Linked DNA regions of Homo sapiens: region 1 is linked to region 2. Evidence: promoter capture Hi-C in human tissues and cell types (Jung and others, 2019). All regions are on one chromosome and are shown on one strand. The core of a region is centred on a gene start or on the middle of the fragment in contact, and the rest is flanking DNA. Distances in the headings are between cores, read along the strand shown.

Region 1 (5,354 bases), core at 2,657-5,156, 760 kb before region 2:
ACCCCAAGCCTCATAGCCCCTCCAGCTTGTCTGCTCTCCTCCCCTTCTCCCTCTCATCGTCTTCTCAGCGCTTCCTTTCACTCTGCACAGCAACTAGAAGCCTGATTTCAGAGGCACACACTTGAGCTCACATGCAGGCTTTGCCCCTCGTTGGCTGTGTGGCAAGTGAGTGAGCTCTGAAACTCAGTCTCCTGGTGACAATGAGGGTGATGATCATACCCGCTTCCTCACGTTGGGAGGATTAAGTGAAATAATTCACATAGAGTATTTAGACTGGTACCAGGCACATACTAGGTTCTCAGGAAATGTGAGTGGTATCATCATTACTATTTACACAAGACCTCCTAGCTGCCATTCCTGTGCTCTGCCAATTCATGACATCCTGAATCATCTACTTGTTGGCTGTGTGGCCCTGGATCTGAGGATCCGATTTCCTTCTCTGGAAAGTGGCAATAATAATATCTTTCGTCTAGGGTTTCGAGGAGGATTAAATGGGGTAGTAATTATACATAGGGTAGTGATAAAATGCACCACTTAAAGCAGGAAATTCTGAGAGTGAAAGGAGAAGCCATTAATAAACACGCTAGGGCAATGGGCTTCCACCAGGATCAACGTCTCCCTATTCATCAGGTACGTAGCCTGGTGCTGGGTCCACAGTGATGAGCTCTACGAACAGGGATTTTTTTTTTTTTTTTTTTTTGAGACGGAGTCTCACTCTGTCGCCCAGGCTGGAGTGCAGTGGCACAATTTCTGCTCACTGCAAGCTCCGCCTCCCGGGTTCATGCCATTCTCCTGCCTCAGGCTCCCGAGAAGCTGGGACTACAGGTGTCCACCACCATGCCCGGCTAATTTTCTGTATTTTTAGTAGAGATGGGGTTTCACCGTGTTAGCCAGGATGGTCTCGATCTCCTGACCTCATGATCCGCTCACCTTGGCCTCGCAAAGTGCTATGATGACAGGAGTGAGCCACCGCGCCCGGCCTACAAACAGGGATTTTTACATCATCACTCCTTTCCCACATCTCCCCCATCACTTTGGTCCTCCCCTCCCCAATTCCTACATGCACGGGGTTTCTTGTTATTCTCCCCTCTTTGCTTCTCGCTTAAGCGACTGTATGGCCCCAACAGCTTCAGAGTGTTTTTCAGCTCAACCTGTTCAATCCATCCCATCACTATGGAGAAACTGAGGTTCAGAGAGGAGAAGGGACTTTTCTGAGTGTCAGCATGTCATTTTCCCTGCTCAAGCACCATGGAATCTACAGCCATCTTGTTGGCATTGAAGGTCCTTGACAGTCAGGCCCTGCCCATCACTTCTGGCCCTCTGACCTCCTCCCCAACTAATTTGCTCACCAGCTGGCCCCAGAGCTCCACCTAAGAAAGGGAAGGGTCCATGTGCAGAACATTGCCTCCTGCCGACTTAGCTCTCCACCCATCCCCACCCCCAAGCCTAGCTCATCCATCTTCCTCCTCCTGCCCTTGGGTGATACCAGAGAGCTGAATGATACAATCCTCCCCAATTCTTTGTCTCAGGCCAGTGGGCTTGAGCCCTGGAAACTCTGTTGAAGCCAGTGGCATCTTCCAGACTCTGGACTAAGCATAATTGGTTTTTAATGGGCCCCATTATAATCCTATGCTTAGTACGCATCATGAGCACCTGAACTCCATGACTAAATGATTTATCGAGAGTTGCCTGGGGCCTTTCTGGGGCCACTGCCCCATCTCTCTTTCCTTCCTGGTCTTGTTGGAAGCTGCTGGCCTCTCTTTCACCAGGAGGCAGTGACTCATCAACTCCAACCCAATGTCCCAGCCAGAGCCAGCCTCACATACAGTATTCCACTCAATTCTTGGAATCTCTGAGCTGAAAGATGATTGTAATTTAATCATGGCAAAAGGGTCTCACCTCCTTTGCCAACACTGATCAACTGGTACTTAAAGAGCTGGGTTGAGCATTCTGGGGCCACATCCAGGCTCCAGAGGGAAGAGCTCTGGGGTCAACTAGGGATGTCCACCATGGATGGAGTGAGGGAGGGGGGATAGAAGGAGCTCCAGGAAGATGAATACACTTTCCATCTAGGATCTGATGTCTCAGTCATTCAGGCACAGAGTGTGTGGTAGGCAGGACCTACTGCTCTGAGGAACAGATCCTCCCAAGAAGCCAAGAGGACCCAGAAGACCCAGGAATTGAATCCAATCCAACACATAGTCCATTTACATAGGCATGACAACTCCAATGCTGACATTTCACAGACGGAGAAACAGAGCTTCAGAGAGAGGAACCCAGCAAGTTAGTTACAGACCTGACAATGGGCATCATCATCAACTTTTTTCCTTCCTCAGAAACTAACCTTCGCACTGTCAAGTTTAAGTCTGATAGGTTATCAAAGGCCCAGGGAAGAGGGATCATCTAGGTGAACTTTGAGAAGCAGATCTTGGAGGAACAAAGGCAATCCCCTCTGCACCAGGGCCATCAGGGAGGCAACCCCAGCTCTGGAAACAGGCAGTCTGGGCTGTGAGCTGGTGTTGGCAAGGCCTGGTCTTCAGAACAGACCTATCCTAGGAGCCTGAAGGGCCCAACACGTCCAGCAATGCTGTTAACTGCCAGGAGGAAATATGAAGAGGAAGCTAGACTATGATGAGGAAATTCAAATATCTGCCTTTGAAAGTTAAAAAAATATTTGATTCATAAAACTGTCACATAATGCTGAACAATTAAAACTGGCAGACACAGACTCAGAAACACCCCTTGAATACCTGTGAGTGTAGGACCCCTGGTTCTGCTGACTTGCTCATTACCGGGCCCCAGCATCTAAGACAAGTTCTTGCAGAGGGAGTTTGCTGCTCACTATATTGAGGTCGTGGGGGACACATTATCTTACTTTCTTTTTTTTTTGAGACAGGGTCTCACTCTGTTGCCCAGCCTGCAGTGCAGTGGCACCATCTTGGCTCACTGTAGCCTCTACCTCCTAAGCTCAAGCGATCCTCTCACCTCAGCCTCCCAAGTAGCTGGGACTTTGGGTGTTCCCCACCATGCCTAGCTAATTGTTGTATTTTTTTGTAGAGACGGGGTTTTGCCACATTGCCCAGGCTGGTCTCAAACTCCTGAGCTCAAGAATTCCACCCCCTTCAGCCTCCCAAAATGCTGGGATTAGAGGCGTGAGCCACTGTGCCCGACCCACATTTTCTGAGTCTACTGTTTACAAGTCCCCACTTGAGATGTGTGGTGGGAGAACAGCACACGTGGTCTCACCAACTCCTCACAGCAAGGCTGTGAGATAATTTGCATTATAATCCCCATTACACAGATCAGAAAACAGAGGTACCAAGGGCAAATTTTCTTGCTCAAGGTCATATAGCTGTTTTCACTTGAGCCAGAGCTGCTCTTGCCCTCAAGTGCTTGGGGTGGGAATCAGGCGAGGATGCAGCCGGTGGGGGCCTCTCACTCCTTCCCACGCAGGCCACAATTCCCAACTATGCCCAGAAACGTCTCTGGATCCATGGAATGTGCATGGGGTGCAAGGAGATTTTCTTTTTTCTGCCCCTGCCTTCCTGTGCCTGCCTCCTTCAGTCCTCCGAGGCACAGGGGTGAGACCTGGCCCCAGCCCAGGAGACAGCGCCTGAGCCAGCCTGGGCCATGGCCTTGCTGGGTGGCTTAAAGCTGGCTTTTTCATCCTGGGCCTCATGAATCCACACGAAGAGTTCATGTGTTCATGGTGGACTATCCAGCTGTAAAATCCTAACAATCGATGATCAAACGTCATCCCACAGACCCGTGTTTCTTGAAGCCCCCCTCATGAGCCCTGGTGTCCCAAGGCCCCAGGCTCTGCCCACTTACCTGCCATGTGAAGGCCAGCTGGACTCCTCTGTTCCTCCACACAGCAGTGTGTGCACCGTCAGGACAGTGTGGCGCGTCACAGCAGCCAGCCAGACCAATTTTAACAAGGAAAACCTTGGGACACTCCTAGGCAGGAAAGTCAGAATTCAAAAGAGGAGGCGTGGCCCTCCACCCTAGCAGCGACACCCACGAGACACAAAATCATCCTGTAATTGCACCTAGAGGGGTTCACTGTGGGAGTGGCTCCTGCCAAGAGACCTTGGAAACACGGAGTTGCGAATGGGACTGTGGAGAAACTGAGGCTCAGAAAGGTCACAAGCCTGGCAAGAAAAAGAACGGGGAAAGAGAGAAGACTGAGGGAACTCGGATTTATGGTTGGCCATTCTTAGCCCTCACAACAACCCTCAAATGAGAAAAAACAGGCTCAGCGCCAGGACCCCGAAGTACATGGTTGCACGCTGCAGTGCCGGGTCAGTCTGTGGCTCCCTCTCCCCTCCTGGGTGAGAGCAGAAGACTCCTGGGCCCACAGCTCCACTCTGTTCTGCAGGCATCTAAAGAGGCAGAGGTCCATGATCCTCCTTCAGGGCCACTAGACTTCCTTGGTGGACACTAGACTCTTGAGAGGAGGTAGATAAGAAAAAGGGGAGAGCTGGTTCTGACTCAGAAGCTAGGCCCATCTGCCCTGACTTTGTGAGTGGCCTCCAGCCAGGAGCTTAGAGGCCTGGTGGCCATGGGTGTCCCGTGACCTTGGACAAGACCTCTCCCCTCCTGGAACCCTGGTGTTTCTACCTACAAACTAAAGGGATTGGACTCAATTATTCTTCAGGGCCATTCCAGCTCAAAGTCTAAGATTCTGGGCTTGAAGGTGCTGGAATTCAAGGCATCTGAGGTCTTTTGTTAATGAAATAGAGGGGATTTTATTTTCATGGAAGCCGGTGGGGTAGGTTTCTTTTTGCCGGAGAAATGCTTTGATGGATGACTTGGGGCTATCGAAGGCTGGATGTGGCCTGGGCCAGTGAGGAAGGGGAAGTGGGAGGGGGTAGAATCGAGGGAAAGAGACAAGGAAGGGTAAGGAGACAACCGTGTGCTGAGCACAGTAGGATGAGGCCGCTCCCTGGGATCACCCCAACATTCAGGAAACTGCATAAAAACCCCAAAGTGTTTGATGTGGTTGGATTTCTTACAGAAAGTGGCAAAGAGGCTGAGTTCTGCTTCCTGGTTTCACGCAGATCAAGCGTCTTTAATGAGCTGTCTGCAGACCCACATAGCCTTATAATTACTGACATCTGGCAGCAGCCCAGGGCAGCTCCTTCCTCAACACCCTGCAGGCTGCTGCCCTGTAGACCCTGGGCCCTGCTGAAGCTGCTTTTCTGCCTATGCAGGGTCAGGCTCCTCCCCACTAATGATGGTCTTATTCAGGGCCCTTTTATCTTTCATCCTGGGCTTGCTTGGACGGGAGCTCCCAGAAGACAGGGCATCAAAATCACTGCCTGCCCCACTGCTCGAGACCCCAAATAATAATT
Region 2 (5,194 bases), core at 1,973-4,472:
CACCAGTGTGCCCTGGATGTGAGACATGGAGTCAAAGGAGATAATTTTGGAGCTTTAATGGCTGCCCTGCTGGGTTTCAGATTGCATTGCATAGGCCTGTATTCCCTTTCTTTTGGGCAATGTATCTCTTTTGAAATGGGAGTATTCCCATTCAGATGGCTAAAGCCAATGCCTATACCCCATTGTATCTTGGAAGTAACTGACTTATTTTTAATTTTACAGGCTTATAGGTGGAAGGCACTTGCCTTGTCTCAGATAAGACTTTGGACTTTTGACTTAATACTGAAATGAGTTAAGACTTTGGGGGACTTCTGGGAAGGTATGATTGTATTTGCAATGTGATAAGGACATAATATTTGAAAGTGGGCAGGAGAAAATGATAAGGTTTAGATCTGTGCCACCACCAAAATCTCATGTTGAATTGTAACCCCCAGTGTTGGAGGTAGGACCTGGTGGAAGTTGGCTGGGTCTTTGGGTCAGATTTCCCTCTTGGTGCTGTTCTCATGATGATGAGTGAGTTCTCATGAGATCTGGTGGTTTTAAAATGTGTGGCACCTCCCTACTCTCTCTCTCCCTCCTGCTCTGGTCGTGTAAATATGCTCACTTCCCCTTCACCTTTTGCCATTTTTGTAAGTTTCCTGTGACCTCCCAGAAGCTGATACCAGCATTATGCTTCCTGTAAAGCCTCTGAAACCATCAGCCAATTAAACCTCTTCTCTTTATCAATTACCCAGTCTCAGTCTCAGGTATTTCATTATAACAATTATAGAAAGAACAGATTAATACATCCACCTATTTGTTTTTTAAACAATTTAGCACTAATTATATTTTTTCAAAATTCTTCTTTTTATTACTTTTCTCAGATACCTGTTGTTACTGCACACCTACCTATTCTTGTTTCACACGTGACTTTGTTTTATGGATTTACTTTCTTTTCATTATCTCTATAAGGTTACTAAATATGTTAATGTTAAAAATATTTTCACATTTTATATTTTTATTTTCTGAGGTATTATTTTCTAAGATGTTATTTTCATTGCTGTTTTTGTTTTTTAGTTATTGTTTTTGAATTTATTATGATGTCGCTTTTCCCCAAATCTTTAGTGATTACTGCTTTCACTGTAATCTTTACAGGAATAATGCCCTGAGTGATCATGGGCTGTCAGCACTTTATGGAACATGGCACCTATCCCAACCTTGCTGTGGAGGCTGCGCCTAATTGACGTTATGGCTTCTTCTCTGCTTCCTTCCTGAGAGATATCTCTCCCTTCTTATGAGAGGTGTCATAGTGAAGGCCATGGAGTGTGACAACCTGTGTTCTAGTTCTAAAAGCTGGGTGATGTTGAACAAATGTATTATTGCCTGCGTGCCTCAAGTTTCCTCACCTATAAAAAAAGGTTAATGGTAGTGCTAATTTCATGGGACCAGAGTGATGAATTAATGAGGTAACTGACAAAATGCTTGGCACAGTACCTGGAGCACAGGACATCTGCAGTAAACACAGCAGCTACTACCCTTCATGTCATATAGAGACTAGTTTCTTGTTTTAAAGTGTAATTTGGCATCGATTAACATGATTTTATCATTTTTATATTCATTTCTGTGAGTGTGGAGCAGGAGGTGATGATTTCACCCTCTGTGCATCTGCCACATTGAAAAAGAAATTTGCATGGAAATGTGATGACTTTTACAATTTCATTTGACAATTACTCATGATAGGTGAAGGATTGCAAGCCCAGCATGGGAAAGAGAGGTTTCCAGACAGGTCTTTCTTAGTCACAGATGATGGAGGAGAAACCATTTCTCCTACCAAGGAAATTTTTCTAAAGCACAAGTATGTCAGGGAAGCAGTGAACTCACCCTGTACACAAATGTAATTATAGCCACAATTTTTTGGTTATAATTAAATATGAATCAAACCTTCTGTATGGCTTATATTACTCTTACCATATCACTACAAGGTGCATGTTATAACTTCCATTTACATGTAATTAAGTTAAGGCTTAGAGAAGTCAAGTGTCTTGTTGAAAGTCACACAGCTGGAGATTGTAAGAAAAGGAATTCATCTACAGATTGACAAAAAGCAGGGTGAAGAGGATCCAGAGGGAGAAATTGATCTCAGAGTGTCAGAGGTAGACCAAGTACACCATAAAAGCTGGGTTCCAGAAGTCCGGGGAACATGGGAGAAGGCCACTGGTGGGAAACTCAGCATGCAGTAGAAATCCATTTAAAAGCAATATTTGAGTTCCCTCTCTTCACCTGGCACCATGAGTATCAATAATAACCTACTGAATCTCAGGGATGTATAGTCATTATCTCTTTTGATGTTCACTAAAACATGGCAGTGAGACTTATTATCCCAAGGTTAGAAGGCAAAACTGAACCTAGGCAGGCCCAGTAACTTCCCCAACTCCTTAGCACATCTTCTTAGGGTATTTATTCTCCCTCCCTCCTCAGTTCCCATCTGAAGACAGTGATGAATGGAATAGGTGTTCTATGTGCAGAGCAAAGAGTATTGAAATCGATGTGACTGCTCCAGGAATCTGCCCTCCATATTCTCCCCCATAATAAACATATCCCCTTTCCATAACCCATAATCCCCACCTCACCTCACAAAGCAGATCCTTATTACCCTAAGCCCACTTCCTCTCCTGGAAGAAGTCAGGAAATAATTCCTTCTGCTGGGTGCAGGCATATGAAAGTGCTAACGGCCACATGAGACTGAATTTGGGCTAAGTTTTGCCATTTATATTTATAAAAGTTCGGAATAGGGAACCATTTCAAGAGCAGACCTGTTCCTCTCCAACACTGAGCAGGTCCAGTGATCCCTCATCCTGCCCCAACTGAGTAGCACTTGGTTGAGGCTGTTGTAGAATGAGACCACAAGCCAACCACATCCTGAGGTCTTGAGATGGAAAGTTTAGGAAACATTTCATAACCACAGGTCCTTCCTGGCTTAAGAGCACCAAATGGCAAATCACCAAGAAGACATAAAGATGGGGTTAGGAGTCATGGAAGGAGTTAAGACCTCAGGTGGGAAGGAAGCATTATTTCTGCTAAGCCTGTCTGATTCTCCTGAAATGGGGCATGCATAACTGCTTGCATTGTAGCTGCTTGCTGTTCCTGATTTCTGTTTCACAATCCAGAAGCAGGTTACTGCTTCACTCCATCGCAGCCACTTCCTCTTGAACTAAGGGAGGCAGGGCTTGTCTTCTCTCCTCAGAGCAGAGTCTGCGATCTTCCCAGCACAGACGTTTGGACAGAGCAGGCTCCTAAGGTCTCCAGAATGCCCGTGCCAGCCTCCTGGCCCCACCTTCCTAGTCCTTTCCTGCTGATGACGCTACTGCTGGGGAGACTCACAGGTGAGCACTGCCTTCGGTTAAAATCTTTTTTCCTGCCCACTGAGCCATGGCCTGTCCCTGGACTTTCAGGGATTCCGGACAATGACAAGTGCTGCCAAGAAAGGCCAAGGATTAGGCTTTGACTGAGAGCAGAAAATCAGGGAGCTGAGCACTTTCTCTGTGGATCTGCAGCTGGCTACCAGAGGCATTGAACCACAGGACGATTCAACCACCACAACAACAATTACTTACATTTTGATAATATTTCAATTGAAAAAGCAGAGAAGAATCATTATCTAAATCCTCACCAGTCCTGAGGCCCTAGGGCCAAGTGACATGCCCAAGTCCACAGAGTAAGCTCAGAGACACCCTAACAGGGTTATGTGGCTCTAGGCCCAGCCCTCTCTCTTCACCAAACTGAGGATGTGAAGTCTGTAATAGTGCTCACTTGAGTAGGGCAGTGGTGTGGTGTATCCTGGGAGTGTTCAGCCACCATCCTCCCTAAGGGTGCTCCTCACTTTGTCCTCTGTTCCCCCATGCTCCTCCCTCCCCTGTGACCTGATTCTTACCACCCATTTCTCTGTGGCCTCTTCCTCTTTAAGAAGTTCCACATTTGCTGCTTACTGGGTCCTATATTCCTTTCCTAGGGCTTCCATAACAAAGAACTGCAGGCTGGGTGGCTGAAACTACAGATATTTACTTCCTTGCAGTTAAGGAGGCTGAAGTCCAAGATCAAGGTGTCAGCAGGGTTAGTTTCTACTGAAGTCTCTCTCCTTGGCTTATACAGGGCCATTTTCTCTCTGTGTCTTAAACACATGATCTTCCTCTGTGTGTGTCTGTGTCCTCATCTCCTCTTCTTATGAGAATATCAGTCTTGTTGTATTAAGGCCCACCCCAATGACCTCATTTAACTAAATTACTTCTTAAAGACCCTGTCTCCCAAACTGTAACGTTCAGAGGTGCTGGGGATTAGAGCTTCAACACATGCATTTTGTGGGACACATTCAGCCCATAACAGGTACTACAACCTCCTTTGGTTCTCTTAAATTTCCCATGGATAATTTCTTTCCCCTTCCCAAGACAGGCAGGATTGGAGGGCCTTTCCTGGTGCAGCCTGGGAGAACCCTGCTCACAGCTCCCAGACAAGTTACCTGTCCTGATCCCTTCTCAGGCCATGGAGCTGACCCCAGAACCACAGGGCTGGGCACAGCAGCCTCTCAATTCCCCACTGGGCCCTGCTGTGATGTCACCTCACAGGCCCTAGAGGGCAGGGGTCTCACTTTTCAAATTATTTTTCTCACACATACACTGTACCCAAATGACAGCAGTAAGAGTTTAACAATTGAGCTCTTCCTACCATGTAGACACAGTTATTAGCATTTTGCCTGTTTTAGCTCCACTAATCCTCACAACATCCCTGTGTGAAAGCTGCAACTATTATCCCCTATTTCCAAACAAAGACTCAGGCAGAGGGAGGAACTTGTCCATTCATTGTCCCCTACCTCAGTCAGTGGAGCAGCTGAGATTCAAGTCCAGGTCGACCGGCTCCAAAGTTCATTCTTTTAGTCGTGTTATGCTACTAGCAGAAATATTAGAAAATGCAGGGAAGTAAACATAGAATTAATTATTGCCTACCACACTTGTTAGCAACAACCAGAGTTACAACTGTGATGTATGTACTTCTAAATTTGTTATTAATGTGTTGGATGCTTTCTATGGGCCACATATTTTACTTTCTATGGGCCAGATATTTTAATGAGATTTTAACGTGTGTTGTAATTTTATTTAATACACAAAACAAACTTATATACTATCACAATAGGTCACACTTTGATATATATTTGTGAATGTAT

What was found. The method cuts DNA at HindIII sites, captures the fragments that hold promoters and counts their contacts. A contact is called where the count stands out against the background at its distance.
Region 1: the fragment with the promoter of TGM6 here is called in contact with the fragment with the promoter of SIRPB1 in region 2 in 3 of the 25 tissues and cell types used here (IMR-90 fibroblasts, small bowel and stomach).

What each region holds. Positions count from the first base shown.
Region 1 is chr20:2,379,453-2,384,806 of GRCh38, reverse strand. TGM6 (transglutaminase 6) reads right to left here and starts at 3,906. Exons shown (of 13, transcript NM_198994.3): 1 at 3,832-3,906. The coding sequence starts at 3,838. The HindIII fragment of the contact is 30,296 bases long and covers 1-5,354 here.
Region 2 is chr20:1,618,037-1,623,230 of GRCh38, reverse strand. It overlaps SIRPB1 (signal regulatory protein beta 1), which reads left to right and starts at 3,222. Exons shown (of 6, transcript NM_006065.5): 1 at 3,222-3,362. The coding sequence starts at 3,287. The HindIII fragment of the contact is 12,957 bases long and covers 1-5,194 here.